Linked DNA regions of Homo sapiens: region 2 is linked to region 1. Evidence: promoter capture Hi-C in 16 types of primary human blood cells and fetal thymus (Javierre and others, 2016). All regions are on one chromosome and are shown on one strand. Each heading gives the region's core, a stretch centred on a gene start or on the middle of the fragment in contact. The rest is flanking DNA. Distances are from core to core; before and after follow the strand shown. Region 1 holds the start of TREM2 (triggering receptor expressed on myeloid cells 2). Region 2 has its middle 8.6 kb from the start of TREM1.

Evidence for each region. Contacts are between HindIII fragments. The CHiCAGO score rates a contact against its expected background, and 5 or more counts as called.
Region 2: a contact is called between a fragment that was not itself captured here and the fragment with the promoter of TREM2 in region 1, in 3 of 17 cell types (M2 macrophages, neutrophils and M1 macrophages). The highest score is 6.0, in M2 macrophages.

What each region holds. Positions count from the first base shown.
Region 1 is chr6:41,161,514-41,165,883 of GRCh38, forward strand. It overlaps TREM2 (triggering receptor expressed on myeloid cells 2), which reads right to left and starts at 1,603. Exons shown (of 5, transcript NM_018965.4): 1 at 1,530-1,603; 2 at 1-100. The coding sequence starts at 1,569. The HindIII fragment of the contact is 7,981 bases long and covers 1,215-4,370 here.
Region 2 is chr6:41,293,125-41,297,494 of GRCh38, forward strand. No RefSeq gene overlaps it. Among named protein-coding and RNA genes, the nearest start is that of TREM1, 8.6 kb to the left of the region's middle. The HindIII fragment of the contact is 3,363 bases long and covers 255-3,617 here.

The sequences.
Region 1 (4,370 bases), core at 353-2,852:
CGCCTCCCCCAGTGCTTCATGGAGTCATAGGGGCAAGACACCTGCAGGGACTGGCCCGCCACGCCCTGGAACACTGTGGTGTTGTGGGCTCCGGACAGCTCTGGGGAGGAGACATTCATTCACTCCTTTGTTTACCAAATACGCTTTGAACACTTGCTCTGTGCAGTGACCTAAACAGACAAAAATCCTGCCCTGAAGGAGCTTAGGTTCTTATACAAGTTGGGAGCGGATGGCACAGCATGTGTTTGTGGGAAATTGGGAACCAGGAAACCTGGGACCTGGGTTTGGTTTTCTCACTGTTGCTCTTGCTGGGCCTCCTTGGAGAAGTAACTGACCTTCTCTGGGTCTATTCTGGAGGCACTTGGTCTTAAAACCCCCTCCAGTTCTGTTCTGCACATCTCTTTGCCATCATTTGGGACTGGGACCTCTCCTCTCGGCCTGGGGCTGGCTCTCCCTGCCCCGCCACTCTTGCTTGCTCTGCAGCCGCCCACATTGGTACCGACTTTCCTGACCTTTAACTTCCAGCTTCCCTATTTCTGTGGCTTTGTTCCCCTTTCAGGAAGGACCCGTCTCGGAGATATTTTGGGGGAGACATGAGGCTGCTATTTTGGGAACCCTCCTTAGGGCGGGGGAGATGGGCTTAGAGCACCAGCCTGTTGCTGGGGCAGCCCCCAGAGCCCCCTGCTTTGACTTCTCTCTTGGTCCTCCCTTGCCTGCCATCTTCAACCATTACTGTGACAGAGGCTTGAAAGATAGGATTGGGAAGTTGGTGGCTTGCCTTTTGGAACTAGAGAGACCAGATGGGCCGTGGCCCTCTCCCATCTGACCACCTCCCATCCATGCCTCAGAACCCCGCCTTCCCCCTGACCACCATCTAAGAAGCTGCAGGAACAAGACTCCATTTGGCACCGTCTCTCCTCTTGCCCAGGTTTGTCCAGTGCTCTGGGGGAGCAAAAGGTGCGCTTTCCTCAGCGGGAAGAAGCAATTGTGTACAAAAATTTGGTGTGTCAATTCCCCTCAACTCAGCAACGGAAATCTCTACGCTCCTCACCTCCCATCAAGAGCTGAGGACAAGGGGACCTTCAGAGCAGGGGAGAGAGTGCCCCAAAGATGCAGATGAACATCCTCAGGTTCTTTCCTCCTTTATAACTGTAGGGGCTCATAATTAGTGGCTTATAATTTCAGAGGCTATTACCAGTGCCAGTGCCCCCCAAAGCTTCCCCCAACTGCCAGCTAGTGCCTGGGATGCCACTGTTAGCACTCCTTCCCTTCCAATGCAACCAGAGTCCACCAGCCCCTTACATGTCCACATGCAGAAAGAGTCTGAGGGTAGGTTTTGATACTGGGGAGGGAAGGAGGGTGTGAAGAATATGGGCAGGGTGGGGAGGAGAGGAGTGCAGAACAGGGCACTCAGGCATGCGAGGACTGCCACCGCCTTCATAATTCACCCCAGGGCCCACCACCCGCGCCCCAACCACATGCTCAAAGTGAGGGAGAGAAGGCATCACAGGGCACGGAGGGGATCCTACCTGTGACAAAGAGTAAGATGAGCAGCCGGAGAGGCTCCATGCCACCCTTCCCCAGCCAAGGGCAGAAGCAGAGTGCCTTGTGCAAGATCTCGTCTTTCCCTTGAACTGCAGAAAAGAGAGGATCAGGCATGTCAGGCGCTGCCCACAGGAACTGGGCTCCTGGGGATTAAGCAATAGTCAGGACTGGGGTCTGGAGGCGGTGCAGGGTGGGGACAGAGGGGAGGAGGAGTCGGCCACTGCAGCCCTGGCAGAAGGAGGCTGAGTCTCCCAGACCTCTGAGAAGCCAGCCCACCCTCCTGCTGGTGCCAGCCAGGGTGGCCCCCAGATGGTTGGGGCTGGTAAGGCCCTGCACTGCTCAGTTTCCTTGCAGAGCCTAGCCCAGGGATCACTATCCTCACAGCTGTATTCAGACCCTCCACCAGCTGCAATGCCCGCCATCTTCTGGTTTCAGCCTTGCAAGAGTTGGAGAACAGCTGTGCCTTTAGAGGCCAGGACCCTCATCCAGCACCTCTTAGTTCATCCCCCCAGGGCTGTCATTCCTGTAGTGTGGCAGCAGTTAAGTACACAGCTCTGGAGCCAGACTTCCTGACTTTCTGGGTGTGTAACCACACATCCAAAACCTACCTGTGTCTGTTCCCTGATCTATACAGTGGGAATAATGATAGTGCAAAGGGTTATCAGGAGCACCATATGGGTTCCTACAGGTAAAGTGCTTTCCAGTAGGGCCTGACACACAGCATTCAACAAATACTAACTATTACCATTATCCTAGTTAGAAGGGAAAAGGGAAATGGGCTGTCCATAAGACAGAAAATTTTCTCTCCCACCTGGAATTTTCTGCCCAAGTTTAGCCTTCTTGGAACTGTTGGGTGTCTCCTGTGCACACATGCTCACACTGGTGTTTATTTTGTGCACACACATGCTTGAACTCCTGATCATCCTATCCTACAGGACAGGACAGGATATTTCTCAGAGTTCTGGGGGTAGGGGTGTGTTTTTCTACACGTACAGGTTCCCATGGTGATCCAAGCACAGGGACCCACGTGTGCAAAGGCACAAAAGTGTGAAATGGCCCAGTGAGTCGGGGATTGGATGGAGGAGGCTTGAGTCAATTCTAGGAGTGGGAAATGGAGTTGTGCTGGGAGTGGCAGAAGAGGCTGGAGAAGCCTGCAGGAGCCTGTAGATTATCAGGGTCTACTTTAGTTTCCTGCAAACACTCACTTATTTGTTCTTTTATTCATTTATTTACTCATATTTACTGTGCATCTAACTTACGGACAGGGAATGTGCTTGGAGATGGGGAATTCATAGTGAGGAGAAGACAGGCCTCCACTCAAAGGGCCAACTGCCCGGCCTTGCCCCAAGGGCCTGGGGGCTGAAGTCTGAGGCTGCCTGAAGATCACTCTGTAGGTACTCTTCTAGGGTCTTTTTCTAGAAGTCAGGTTTATTGGCCCATAATTTACATATACAAAAATTTACCCCTTTTAAATGTCTAGTTGTGTAAATGTTGACAAACTCATGCATCTCTATAACAACCACCACAATCACCATGTCTGTGTAACACAATACCATAATATAGAAAGTTTCATTTAGCTTAAGCGAGAGCCTTTGTGCCCATTTTAGCCAGTCTCTTTCTCTCCAATCCAGGGCCTGGCAACTACTAAGCTGACATCTGTTTCTGTAGCTTCCTGCCCTTCCTAAAATGTCATAGACATGGAATTAAATAGTATGTAGCCTCTTGGGTCAGTCTTTATTCACTCATCAGAATAAATTCAGCATGCGTGAAGTTTCACTTCTCAAGAATGTATTCCTTTTTATTGCTAAACCATCTTTCATTCTATGGTTGAACCACAAGTAGCGTATTCATTCACCCGCTGATGGATATTTGGGTTGTTTCCAGTTTGGGACAATTATAAATGAAGCCACTATAAACATTCATGTACATATGTTTTGTGTGGACATATGTTTCTATTACCCTTGGATAAAATCCTAAGAATGGGACTGCTGGGTCACATGTAAGTGTATGTTTAAGTCTATAAAAGCTGCCAAAGTCTTTTCCAAAGAGGCTGTACCATTTTTACATCCTTGTCAACAGTTAATATTGTCAGGTTTTAAAAAGCCTTTCTAATAGGTTTAAGGTGATATCTCCTTCAATTTTAACTTGTATTTTTCTAGTGAGTAACGATATTGGACATCTTTTTGTTGTTTATTGCCATCTGTACCTTCTTCAGCAAAGTATTAGTTCAAAACTTTTGTCCTGTCCATTTTTAATTGTTTATTATTATCATTATTATTGAGCTGTGAAAATTCTTTTTATTCTGGATAGCAGTCCTTTATCAGATATGTGATTTGCAAATATTTTCTTCTAGTCTGTAACTTTTTTTCTCATTTCCTTAGCAGCATTAGCAGCATCTTTTTTTTTTTTTTTTTTTTTTTTTTTTGAGACAGAGTTTTGCTCTTGTCACACAGGCTGGAGTGCAATGGTGAGATCTCAGCTCACTGCAACCTCCGCCTCCCAGGTTCAAGCGATTCTCCTGCCTCAGCCTCCTGAGTAGCTGGGATTACAGGCACCTGCCACCACGCCTGGCTAATTTTTTTGTATTTTTAGTAGAGACGGGGTTTCACCACGTTGGCCAGGCTGGTCTCGAACTCGTGACCTCAGGTGATCTGCCTGGCTCAGACTCCCAAAGTGCTGGGATTACAGGCATGAGTCACTGCACCCAGCCTAAATGGATAGATGTTATTTCTGATGAAGTCCAATTCCTTGATTTTTCTTTTTACAATTTGTGCTTTTCTGTGCTCTGTTAAAAAGTTTGCCCATCTCAGAGTCACAAATATTTT
Region 2 (4,370 bases), core at 686-3,185, 130 kb after region 1:
AAGTAGGATTTGTCCTACCTGGCATTCATTCAACATATGAAAATATTTCAGTTTAATACTCCATATTACATTGTAAAGGAGGAAAATGTCACAGTCATATCAACAGATGCAGAAAAAGCATTTGACAAAATTCAACTCTCTTTTATGATAAAATACTCAATAAACTAGGATAAGAAGGGAATTTCCTCTATGCAATAAAGGGCATCTATTAAAAAAGACCCTACAACTAACATATTTAATGACGAGAGACTGCAAGCTTTCTCTCTAAGATCAGGAATAAGACAAGAATGTCTTCTCAGCCAACTCTGTTCAACATTGTACTGGAGGTTCTAGCCAGGGCAATTAGGCAAGAAAATAAAAGGCATCCAGGTTAGAAACAAAGAAGTTAAATTTGTACGTAGGAAATTCTATGGAATTTTTAAGAAAACTATTAGAGCTAATTAACAAGTTCAGCAAAGTTACAGGATATAAGATCAATATATAAAAATCAGTTGTATTTCTACTTACTAGCAATAAACAATCTGAAAATGAAATGAAATTAAGAAAGCAATTTCCTTTATAATGGCATCCAAAGCAATGAATATTTAAGAACAAATTGAACAAAAGAATGCAAGATTTGCACACTAAAAACTACAAAACATTGTTATCTGGCAGAGTCTTTGCCTTTTTGTACCCACTCACCCAGCTTGGGTCCTATCTCCACTACTTTATGTTTTCTGCTCCAGGAGGCCCTAGGTGACTCTGCTGCAGCCTCTATCATCCTGTGACCTGCAGGATCTCAGTAAGACGGCTAACTAGATGCAGCCAGGAGGAACATCTGCCACCTAAGGATGGTGACATAGAGAAGACTGGTGCACTGAGGGAAGGCACTGAGAGTGGATGGAGGGAGGACACAGATGCTGGGCTGAAGGGGAGAGAAAGCTGGGAATCTTGCACGGGCCATCATACCTTGGGACTCATTCCTGGCCCCCAACAACTCTGGGGAACAGGTGAGTTGAGCAGGCAAGGCGTGACCCACTTTTGCCACAGACCTCTAGAATCCTGGCAGCAGGAGACCCCACAACCCCAAAGACACTTGAGCTGGCAGGGGGAGCTGCTTAGAGAGGTAGTAAGGGCAGGACTCCAGCCTGTGTAGAGCCCAGAGGGTTTAGTGTGGGAATGTCTGTGGTGGAGCACAGCTGGGGATGCCCATACCACAAGGCTCACCATGATCTCCTAGGAGATTTTAGCCTTAGGGGAACTGTCCAATTTCAACAGAGCAGGATGGTCTTGCCAGTGAGACAAGCCAGTCTGATCTGAGTGCCCTCCTGTCTGCTGGCCTCTCCTGGGGCCCCAGCCTGCCCATGCCTGCTTTCAGTGCAGCCTTGGATACCAAACTGGCATGCCTCCTGGGGACCTGCATCATAGTTCCTTCACCAGCAGACTGCACCTGACCATCAGAGCACTCAAGCAGAGTGGCCCCTGCTGATGAATATCAGCCCACCACACCCTCCCTCTGTGGCAGCCTTCCCCATGCCACTTTACCAGCACACATTTGCTCACAGCCAACCCCCCACCGCTTTCCCAGCACATGTGTGTGTGGGCGGATCTCACCTCCCCTCCCCCGCTGCTGCATGTGTGCATGTGAACCTCACTGTGCTACTACTGCAGGCATGAGCCTACCCCTGCCCCAGCCATGCTGCCATTGCCAGTGTGAACACAGGCACACAGGCCCCACCTCCCACCCCACACTGCCACCACCACTAGCACAAACACACACACGTAGTGGCCCTCAGCCTCACAGCCACCAGGACCCTACCCCAGCCAACAAGCGTGCACCCTGCTATGCTGCTGCTGCTGCTGCTGCTGCTGCTGCTGACACACACAAACACACATGGATCCTGCTGCCATCACCCTGACAAAGTGCTTTGGCTGGTACCACCCATCAGAGTGTCATGACCAGAGGCCCCAGAATACCTCTGTCCCTCTAGCATGGCTGGTTCCTAACCTCAAGGGGCCAGAGAACAAAGCTGGGGGCCTCATTCCAGCGCCCCCAGAGTTAGAGCCTGCAGCTTAGGAGTGCTGAGTTGAGCCTTGGCCCCCTAACATCTTCCAGAAACAAAGCCAGTCAACAGGACCCATCTTATACCACAATCAAACCCCCAAGGCCATCAATGAAGATAAAAGCAAATAAACCCGTCCAAAGGACAGCAGCTTCAAAGATTGAAGAAACATCAGCCCACACATATGAGAAGGAATCAGCACAAGAACTCTGGCCACTCAAAAAGTCAGAGGTCTTTTTACCTCCAAATGACAACACTAGTTACCCAGCAATGGTTCTTAACCAAGTGAAATGGTTGAATGACAAAAACAGAATTTAGAATGTGTATAGGAACAAAGATCATTGAGATTCAGGAGAAAGCCAAAACCCAATCCAAGGATTCTAGGGAATACAATAAAACAATATAGGAGCTGAAAGACAAAATGGCCGTTTTCAGAAAGAACCATACTGATTTGATAGAGCCAAAAAACTCACTTCAAGAATTTTATAATACAATCAGAAGTATTAACAGCAGAATTGATGAAGCTGAAGAAAGAATCTCAGAGCTCAAAGACTGGTTATCCAAAATAACTCAGACAAAAATAAAGAAAAAAACTAAAGAAGAATGAACAAAACCCCTAAGAAATATGAGATTATGTAAAGAGACAAAATCTATGACTCACTAGAATCCCTGAAAGAGAAGGAGAGAAAGCAAGCAACTTGGAAACATATTTCAAGCTATCATCCATGAAAATTTCCCCAACCTCACTAGAGAGGACCACATTCAGGAAATTCAGAGACCCCTGCAAGATACTAGATAAGATGGCCATCACCAAGAAACATAGTCATCAGATTCTCTAAGGTTGAAATGAAAGAAAAAAGTATTAAAGGCAGCTAGAGAGAAGGGGCAGGTCACCTACAAAGAGAACCAGCTAGCAGCAGACTTTCAGCAGAAATCCTACAAGCCAGAAGAGACTGGGGGCCTATATTTAGCTTTCTTTTTTGTTTTGTTTTGTTTTGTTTGTTTTTAATCTCAATAGCTTAGGGGTACAAGTGGTTTTTGGCTACATGATGAATGAATGAATTGTACAGTGGATGAATTGTATAGCGGTGAAGCCTGGGCTTTTAGTGTATTCATCACCTAAATAGTGTGTATTGTACCAGTAGGTAATTGTTCATCCTGAACCCCTTTTCCACTCTTTTCCATTCTGAGTCCACAACGTTCATTATACCATTCTGTATGCCTTTGTGTACCCATAGCTTAGCTCCCACTTACAAATGAGAACATTCTGTATTTGGTTTTCTGTTCAAGTTTTTACTTCACTTAGGATAATAGACTCTAGTTCCTTCAAAGTTACTGCAAAAGACAGTATTTCATTCTTTTTCATGAATGCATAGTATTCTGTGGTGTGTGGATGGATAGATAGATAGATAGATAGATAGATAGATAGATAGATACCATATATTTGTATCCACTTATCAGTTAGTTGGCAGTTAGGATGATTCCATATAATTGCAATTGTGAATTATGCTGCATACATTTAGCATTCTTAAAGAAAAGAGATGCCAACCAAGAGTTTCATATCCAGCCGAACTAAGCTTCATAAGTGAAGGAGAAATAAGATCCATGTCAGACAAACAATTGCTAAGGCAATTCATTACTACTAGACTTGTCTTACAAGAGGTCCTGAAGGAAGTATTAAATTTGTTAAAGAAAGACCATTACCAGCTGATATAATCTGGATATTTGTCCCCACCCAAATGTCATGTTGAAATGTAATCTCCAATCTTGGTGGTAGGGCCTGGAGGGAGGTGTTTGGATCAAGTGGGTGGATCCCAAATGAATGGCTTGGGCCATGACTTGGTGACAAGTGAGCTCTCACTCTGAGTTCACACAAGATCTGGTCATTTAAAAGTGTGTAGCACCTCCCCCAGTATCAGGGGAACCAGCCCCCAATATTTCAACGTAGATTCATTTCTATTTTCCCTAAGTGTTGGCCAGTCTGAGAAATAAAGAGAAAGAGTGCAAAGAGAGAAATTTTAGAGCTGGGCCTCCAGGGGTGTCATCACATATTGTTAGGACCATGATGATGACCCCAAGCCACAAAACCAGCAAGTTTTTATTAGGGATTTTAAAAGGGGAGGGGGTATATGAACAGGGAGTAGGTCACAAGGATCACATGGTTCAAAGGGCTATAAAGATCACAAGGCGAAGGCAAAATTAGAATTACTGATGCGGGTCTATGTCCCGCTGTGCACGCATTGTCTTGATAAACATCTTAACAGGAAACAGGGTTTGAGAGCAGAGAACCAGTCTGACTAGAATTTACCAGGCTGGAATTTCCCAATC